3 separate regions of the Homo sapiens genome follow, and all the other regions are linked to region 2. Evidence: promoter capture Hi-C in 16 types of primary human blood cells and fetal thymus (Javierre and others, 2016). All regions are on one chromosome and are shown on one strand. Each heading gives the region's core, a stretch centred on a gene start or on the middle of the fragment in contact. The rest is flanking DNA. Distances are from core to core; before and after follow the strand shown.

Region 1 (2,700 bases), core at 99-2,598, 2.4 Mb after region 2:
TGTTGCCCAGGCTGGAATGCAGTGGCACGATCTCAGCTCACTGAAACCTCTGCCTCCAGGGTTCAAGCAATTCTCCTGCCTCAGCCTCCCGCGTATCTGGTATTACAGGCACGCGCCACCACGCCCAGCTAATTTTTTTGTATTTTTAATAGAGACGGGGTTTCACCATGCTGGCCAGGATGGCACATATATTCTTAATTATAGCAATTGCTCCCTTGTGCTGGTATTCGCCTTACGTGTTTGCTTTCTTTTCTAGACTACCAGATCAAATGGCTTATTTCTAGTTTCAAACTGTCACATAGGAAATGTTTGTTAAAACTAATGTTTTATAAAATTTAAAGCTTATTTTACATATTATCTCATTAGATCTCTCAAGAATTCTGTGAGCTTGGCAATGTAGATTGCTGTATATGCATTAGGCTGATGAACAAACAGGCTTAGAGATAGTCACTTGCCCGAGGTTAGTTAGCTGTTAAGTGTTGGGATTGAATCCCAGGTCTTCTCTCCACCACTTTCTACTAAAAATCACTGAAGGTTGTCAACCGACAGATAGGATTACTCTGTGTGTTGATAACAAAAGGGTGATCAATAATATCTGAAAAGGAAACTTTGTGTAAAAGTCTTTCCCTTACCTTAAAAACTACGCCACACTGGAGCATTCTTTCATTCCCCCAATTTAATTCTATCTGGCGAGAAACAATAATGGGCTAAACCATTATTGTATCGTAAGTCAAATTGCCAAAACTTCACAGGCTACTAAAAGTTAACCCTTATTGAATGAATTAAGAACCTTAGAAGTTCTGCTGTTAAAAAAAGCACGGTGACTGTCAGGGTTTTTCAGGTGTGGGGGGTGTGAGGGTTTTAAGAGTTGGATTCCTTTGACTTTGTCTCTATTATTATAGGCTTAGAGGTCCCGGGTAACTACCAATCGCTATCCAAAGGGAAAGCACCCTGTTAGAAATTAAGTAAGAAAAATAGTTTATATTCCCGGTCTGCCATTTCGATTCTAAGCTTTATCTTTATTTAGCTCACAGTTAAAGGGGGCATAGAGCCACACCCACCTCACAAACGCCGCAAGGATTGGGAGACCAGAAAAGTAAAAGTGACTTGCAAACCTTTAGCTCTAAGTCCATAAAAAAGACTATCATATGCTCACATTTCTAATCTTTGCTAGTATAATGTAATCTTTATTTTGAAAACAATGTGCCTCCATTCCTAGTAAAGCGAAAGTCACGGCGCTGCGACCCTCCCTTCAGCGCCTCCGGACTCTCACGCGATACTCGGCTTTCACGCTTTAGTCTAGGGCTGCACTGCAGGAGGAAGAGAAGCGCCTGTGGTGACGCACTTATTCCGCGCGATGACGTCACTGCAAGGCGCCGGGGGACACGTTGGCTGCGTTTTCGGCGGGCTTCCCGGGTACAAAAATGGCTGTGGCTAGCGATTTCTACCTGCGCTACTACGTAGGGCACAAGGGCAAGTTTGGGCACGAGTTTCTGGAGTTCGAATTTCGGCCGGACGGTGAGAAGAGGCCCACGGCACGCGGTGCTGGGAAAGGGGAGCGAGACCGAGAGGCCGGGTGGTGTGGAGGGTACAGGCGGCGGAGGCCACTGCTTCCCTCGAAGGAAATAGGAGCTTAAGAATAGAGGAGGCATAAGTTGGTTTTATAAATGAAAGAGAATTAATTGCAATAAATTAAAGCTAATCCTGTCACAAACTGAAAAGTTGAACCTACAGTAATCAGAATTCTGTAACAGTGCACCAGAAGGGACTCTAGATCGTCGCCCTGATTGAAAATGCTAGCACTTTTTTGAAAACACCCCCACCAGCGGGTGGTCCAGTGGATGAATAAAATCTTGTGGTGACCAGTACCTTTTTTTCATTTAGGCTGTGTGTTTTCTTTGAAGGGGAGGAGCCCAACGTGTTAACAAATGAGAATAATAATATGTTTTAGGTGTTTACGTGTAATTGTTCACCATAGGACGCATGAAGAGTACCAAGCAAGAGGGGAGAGGTAAAGTTCCACAGGAGGGAGTCAGGAAGATCTTCTTAGAGGACGGCACTCTTGAGATGAGTCTCGAAATGAGAGACTTGGCCTTTGAGAGAAAAAAACAGACTTCCAGAGCAGTATGAGCAGAGGATGAGGTGAAACTGCTACCCAAGTAGTGTGCAACAGTGTGTTTTCTGACAGCGCTATCCTTAGAGAATGTTACATTGATCTTGCCTACCTGCAACAAGAAAGTTCATTTGGATATATATTTTTTGGGTTTTTTTGAATGCACGTTTTGTGCTGGACAACAAGCAAATACAAAATTTTAAGGTACAGTAATGAGTAAGACAAATTTAACTAAAGCAGATTTGTCTTGGTGGGAGGCACAGACATTTAACTATAAAGCAGTATGCATATTAAGTCCTATAAGCAGGCTTTGGACAATGTTCTGTGAGAGCAAGAATAAAAAATTAGAGAAGGAACGTATATTAGGAAAGGAGAAGAGTATCAAGCATTTCAGGCAGAACTCACGTTAACTACAGTCCTGCAATTATTATTATTATTATTATTTTGAAACAAGGTCTCACTCTGTCACCCAGATCTGAGTGCAGTGGCACGATCTCAGCTCACTGCAACCTCCCCCTCCCTAGTGCAAGTGATCCCTCACCTCAGCCTGCCGAGGTGCTGGGAATACAGGCCCACGCCACCTCACC
Region 2 (2,700 bases), core at 102-2,601:
CGGTTCGGCGCCACCGTCGGGGCTCAGGTCGGGCAGCCTGCCCCCCACCTCCGGCAGGAGGAAAGAGCAGAGGCGCCCGTAGAGGTCCGGGTGGCCGCTGCTGTTAACATCCATCACTGCGCCGCCGTGTGGCGCTGCCCAAGAAGCCGCCCCACCCCCCTCCCCACCCCCGCGGCCGCCACAGGCTCCGGCTTTCGGCCCCGGGGCTTCAACTCGCCGGTTCCCCTCCGCCCGGCCCAGCTTGAGGCCTGCACCGGCCGCTGGGCAGCGCCAGGCTCGGCCTCGGGGCCCCGCCTGTCCCAGATCCCCGGCCGCTGCGTGAAACGCGAGAGCGCTGCCGAGCGGGGACTCCCTGAGGGAGGGACCTCGGACCCCGACGGACGCCCGGGACGCGCGGGCTCTCGGGCGCTCCGGCGGGGCTCGGCCCGCGGCTCCACAGCCCGCTGCACCCGCGCGGCTCGGAGCAATGGAGGATCAGGCAGCGGCAGAAGCTTCCGTTTCCTCCTTTTTAAATGGCTCCAAAATATTTCTTGTCGGTGGTGTGGAGTAGAGATTTATTGGTAAAATACTTGACAGAAAGCAGGCACTCAGCTGAGTAAATGGTGACAAAATTGGTGAGAAGATTTTTGAACAGGAGTGAACGAGAAAAGCCATGCTTAGAAAAGTCACCTGGAAACTGTGATTTAGAGGGATGGTAGGAAAGAGTGGCAGCAGGAAAGTGGTTTGGATGCTCTTTCAATGGTCTAGAAGAGGTCATGGGGCGGGGGTAGAGGGACAGCTACCAAGACAGGGAGCCTGGCCGCCGCTGTACCAGCGGGATCGAGCCTTCGGGTAGAGGACCGGAGAAGCGTGAGCAACCCGGGGCTCGGAGGTTGGAGCCCAGGCACCTGAGAGAGGACGTTCCCCACCACCGCTGCCTAAAGCCACTCCAGGCGAGAATCGCTTTCCAGGGCCCCAGCGGATAGGTTAGACTCAGAATAAGAGAAGGGGTCTGCGGAGGGGGACGGCCTGAGGCCCGCGGCCGGGTTCCCTCCCCAGACACCCGCGGAAAGCCCGAAAGGAGGCGGAACACGGCCCAGCGGCTCGCCACGGCGGGCCCATCCCTTGCTTAGCCGCCTCGCACCCTCGCCTCACCGCACTGCTGCACTGCTGCACTGCTGCCCTGCTGCCCGCCCTTCGCATCACTGACCCGCCCTCTCTCCGCCCCCTCGCCTCGCCGCCCCGCCCTCTCTCTCCGCCCCTTCACCTCGCCGTCCCGCCCCCTTGCCTCACCGCCGGGCTGAATTGCCGCCCCGCCCTCTAGCCACGCCCTCTGGCCCCTGCCTCTAGCCCCGCCTCTCGCCTCGCCGCCTCGCCGTCCCGCCGCCTTGCCGCCCTGCCACCCTGCCGCCCTGCCGCCCTGCCGCCCTGCCGCCCTGCCGCCGGTGGTCGCTGCCCGTGGTGCTCCGTCGCCCCCGCCACCTCACGTCCTCCCGTGCGTCGGGAGCGTCTCGGCTACAACATGTTGGGCATGATCAAGAACTCGCTGTTCGGAAGCGTAGAGACGTGGCCTTGGCAGGTCCTAAGCAAAGGGGACAAGGTAGGCCCGCAGGGCTGCCGAGGACCTGAAGGATTGCTGCCTCCCACCCCCACCCTCGTCGGGGCTGCAGCGGGTGCTGAGGGGCAGGTGGGGCAGGAATGTGCTATCGAAGGTGCGTTCTGGTGTCTGTCGCGAGTGCGGCTCTCCACCGCCCAGCATTTGGACTGGGAAGGAAAGGAGTGAGAGGTCCCCCTGCAGCCGGTGGTGAGAGGAGGGGGGTAAACAGGAGAGACTGATCCAAGGAGAGAATCCCAACTTGGGGAGTTGGGCACTGCCTGTTGAATGCATTCTTTCGTTTAAAATATTCCAAACATTCCGAACAGTTTGATTTGTTGAGAGACACTCGGTTGCAGAAATGAGTGTCGCAAGAAACTCCCAAGTACTAGAGAACTGCGGATAGTAGCCCCCTTTATCCGCGATTTCAGTTACCTGTGGTCAGCTCTTGTCCATAACTATTAAATGGAAAATTCCAGAAATACAGAAGTCCTAAGTTTTAAGTTTCCGGCCATTCTGCGTAGCAGGATGAAATCTTGATTCCTGGGACCGGAATGCCCCTTTGTCCAAGGTCAGCCTCCTATCTCTAGTAGCCGCCCTTAGTCACTTAGTAGCTAGCTTGGTGATCGGATCGACCGTGGCGGTATTGAAGTAACCCTTATTTTACTTAGTAATGGCCCCAAAGTGCAAGCTTAGCAATGCTGGCATATTGTTATAATTGCTGTTATTTTATTATTGTTGTTCATCTCTTACTGTGCCTAATTGATAAAGTTAAACTATATCATAGGTATGTATGTATAGGAAAAAACGTAGTAGATACAGGGTTCAGTTTTGTCCACCGTTTCAGGTATCCACTGGGGGGCTTGGAAGGTATCTACTATAGATAAGGGGGACTACTGTGTAAAAGAACAAGATCTGTGCAGAATAGATATAAATGCGCTACGCAGGGAGCACAGAGGCAGTCAATTCTGCCAGGGGGCTATGATGGGGACCTCAGTGGAGTGTCCTGAGCTGGGGCCTCAGGGATGTGTAGGAGTGCACACAACAGAGAAGAGCATGCACAAAGGCCCAGAGCTGTACCATTGCTTTTGGCCAGTTAGATCCTCTGGAGTTGGGTACCTAGAATA
Region 3 (2,700 bases), core at 20-2,519, 2.6 Mb after region 2:
TTAGATCTGGCAGTCCTAAAGCTGGGATCTGAGTCAAGGCTTCTTTGATTTTTTGAAAAGCCTTCTTCTGGTTGGCCTCCTAGAGGAGGAGTCCTTCTTTCCTCCTCTTTGTGGCTTTGTATAATGGCTTAGCCACAAGCAAGAAATTTGGGATCTAAATGCGGAAGAACTTTGCTGCCCTTAGGAACTCTGTTATTCGACGCCAGGTGGTTGGAGTAGGAAGTGCACAAACAGCCTGCTTTTGTTCACTACTAAGCCATCTTTCCTCTTGGCTTATGTAAAAGCTTAAGTACTGGACACTTTTCGAGCAGATCTGAGCTTTTTTCTGACCCTTTATATCCTGCCTTTCACAGCAGTCTTGGGTTTCTCCTGGGTGCAGTAGCCCTTGGCCAGTGGTTTTTTCATACCATGGCCTTGACCATTCTCCTTATTCTTTTGACATTTATCCTTCTAGTGTCCTTTTCTTTTGCACCATGTACATTAATCTCTCTCTAGCCTTGGCTGGCTTTCAAATTGCTGTCCAGACTAGCCTTTTCCACAACTGCATTCACACCCGCATCTATGCCTCCTTGCAAAGCCAGCCTCTCTTCCCATAAGGGCTGCTGCTTGTAAATAAGCCTTTATTAAGCCTCCAATCAGCTTTCTTCTTTGCCTCCTGGTCTCAGTTAATGTACACCTTGGTAGCCACTTTAATAAGCTGAGTAGCATTCACACCTACGGAGCTTCTAACTTCTGCAATTTATGCCTGATATCTCCTTGGGCCTGCCTTACAAATGCCGTATTTACTATTCACTGATTTTCAGCAGCCTCGGGGTTAAACAGAGTGTACAAGCAAAATGCCTATAAAACTGGCTGGTGCTTTTATCTGCACCATGGAGCACTTCTGAGATTTTTTTATATTGGTTGCCTTTTCCTTTTAACATCCTTTAGCCTTTGTAAAAGTGCTTCTCGGCACTTTTGTAGGTGCTGAAGCTGGACTGCATCGTCTGGGTCCTAGTGGGGGTCTGCTTGTCCTCTTAAGAGGCAGAAGCATAACTTGGGCATGACTTGACCTGAGACGGCCTGCCTACCTTTTTGAGCCTTTCGTTTTAACTTCCTGGAGCTCCGATTTCTCCTTCTCAGGTGAGAGTGGGAGCATGTATCTGTTTGAACTTACCTCCTTAGGGGCAATTAGCCTTGGTAAGGGGGGATAGATTGGAATATAGGTAGGAAGGATCTCTATTCCATCCTGTGATTCTTGCAAAACTGGTTTTCTCTTTCCTGAGACTCTTTTTTTTTTTTGGTCTGCATAGCTTCCAGGGCAGCTGACTTTCACTTTCACTTTTGGATCGGTGGTGCTAGAAGCCTCTGTGACTTTCCCTTTAACTCCGTAGCTGCCAGCACAGTTGGTTTATCTCGGCGTGAGCTGCGAGCATTCTACAATAAACTGCTAGGCAGGGCTGCGTACATTTAGCCATGAGTCAATATAAAGACTAGGTCTGAATGCCCTGGCTGTCCTCCGACCCTAGTCACCACCTTAAAACACACGGCCAATTTCTCTACAGTGCCTTCGGCCAGCCATCTGACACTAAAAGAGGGCTATTGTAATTCACAGTATGTCTTTAACTTTTGAACATCCAGTTTCATCCCACAATCACCTCTAAATCCTTTCTTTAAAATTTTTATCATGCACTCCAAAGGAGTTGGTTTTGACGCTTTCCCTCCCATTTCCTCCCTTGCGGCACACTCTCACTCTCACTCTCACTTTCACTCTCAGGTCCAGCAGACCCGGTCCTATTACAGGAGTTTCGGACACTGCTTAGCCAGGAAGGTGTCTTCCCCTGTCACAGCCTGCTACAGCTGCAAAGCTCGTCCTATCAGCTGTATGCAATGTCCTAGGTCTGATTTCCCCCCACACTCGCCTCAGAGCACACAGCCCGTGCTAAGGGATCTGTGCCTCCCCACGTCACTCCCTGCATTGGCCTCTCCCGAGACCATCGCTTTCACACACTTTCACACACCTTCCTTGCCCCAGGATTCCTCATTGGACGAAATGAGCCTCTCTCATGTCCCGGGTGAGTCTAGTTAGGCTCCCACTTTCACACACATACACCACTCCTACTGCAGGAGTCCTCATCGGATGGAATGAGCCTCTCTCATGACCTGGGTGAGCCTAGTTAGGCTCCCATATTCACACACATACACACACCACTCCCAGTTCCTGTCTCCAGATCCAGTGAACCACTTTCACTTTGTTAGTGGGGACATAAGCTTCATCCAAATTGGCAGGCCACTCCTGCTGCCCCCAGCCACTCTGGGTTGGATTAGTGGTCAGTCCCTGGGAGGTGATCAAGCTCCCCTTTGTCCCTATGGGACGGGCTTTCCTGCCTTGGGCCTATACTCCTTACCACAGTTCCTGAAGTGCTGGTATCGTCCTGCAGCCCCATCCTCGGTTCCATTGCGCTGCCAGGCAGGGTGCTGGGACGTGGGGAGAGCTGGTCTATATATCCGGGTGAAGCTCAGCTGTGGCACACCTTGGATGCCGGGTCTCTCCTGGCCCCGGGGACCTAGTATCGCAGGCAAAGGGGACAGTAAATCTGTCATCTCCAATCCTGATGAGCCCCCAGAAATGTATCGGGATATATAAGGAATCAGAGAGACCAAGGGATTGAGGAGGATATTTATTATTTAGGTGCACTGGTCCACTTGGATTAACATCCA

What was found. The method cuts DNA at HindIII sites, captures the fragments that hold promoters and counts their contacts. A CHiCAGO score of 5 or more calls a contact.
Region 1: a contact is called between the fragment with the promoter of MAGOHB here and the fragment with the promoter of HEBP1 in region 2, in 3 of 17 cell types (non-activated CD4 T cells, naive CD4 T cells and activated CD4 T cells). The highest score is 7.3, in non-activated CD4 T cells.
Region 3: a fragment that was not itself captured here is called in contact with the fragment with the promoter of HEBP1 in region 2 in 1 of 17 cell types (activated CD4 T cells); the score reaches 5.1 in activated CD4 T cells.

The regions. Positions count from the first base shown.
Region 1 is chr12:10,612,257-10,614,956 of GRCh38, reverse strand. MAGOHB (mago homolog B, exon junction complex subunit) reads left to right here and starts at 1,348. Exons shown (of 5, transcript NM_018048.5): 1 at 1,348-1,518. The coding sequence starts at 1,425. RefSeq lists enhancers at 534-1,411, 1,228-1,627, 1,412-2,291. The HindIII fragment of the contact is 2,009 bases long and covers 1,014-2,700 here.
Region 2 is chr12:12,998,916-13,001,615 of GRCh38, reverse strand. It overlaps HEBP1 (heme binding protein 1), which reads left to right and starts at 1,351. Exons shown (of 4, transcript NM_015987.5): 1 at 1,351-1,579. The coding sequence starts at 1,502. All of the region lies in intron 2 of GPRC5D-AS1 (GPRC5D and HEBP1 antisense RNA 1), which reads right to left. It also overlaps the pseudogene HTR7P1. RefSeq lists silencers at 257-406, 1,167-1,286, 1,337-1,486. The HindIII fragment of the contact is 1,773 bases long and covers 494-2,266 here.
Region 3 is chr12:10,363,721-10,366,420 of GRCh38, reverse strand. It overlaps KLRK1-AS1 (KLRK1 antisense RNA 1), which reads right to left and starts at 2,652. Exons shown (of 4, transcript NR_120430.1): 1 at 2,388-2,652. RefSeq lists enhancers at 1,602-1,671, 2,132-2,181. The HindIII fragment of the contact is 1,966 bases long and covers 287-2,252 here.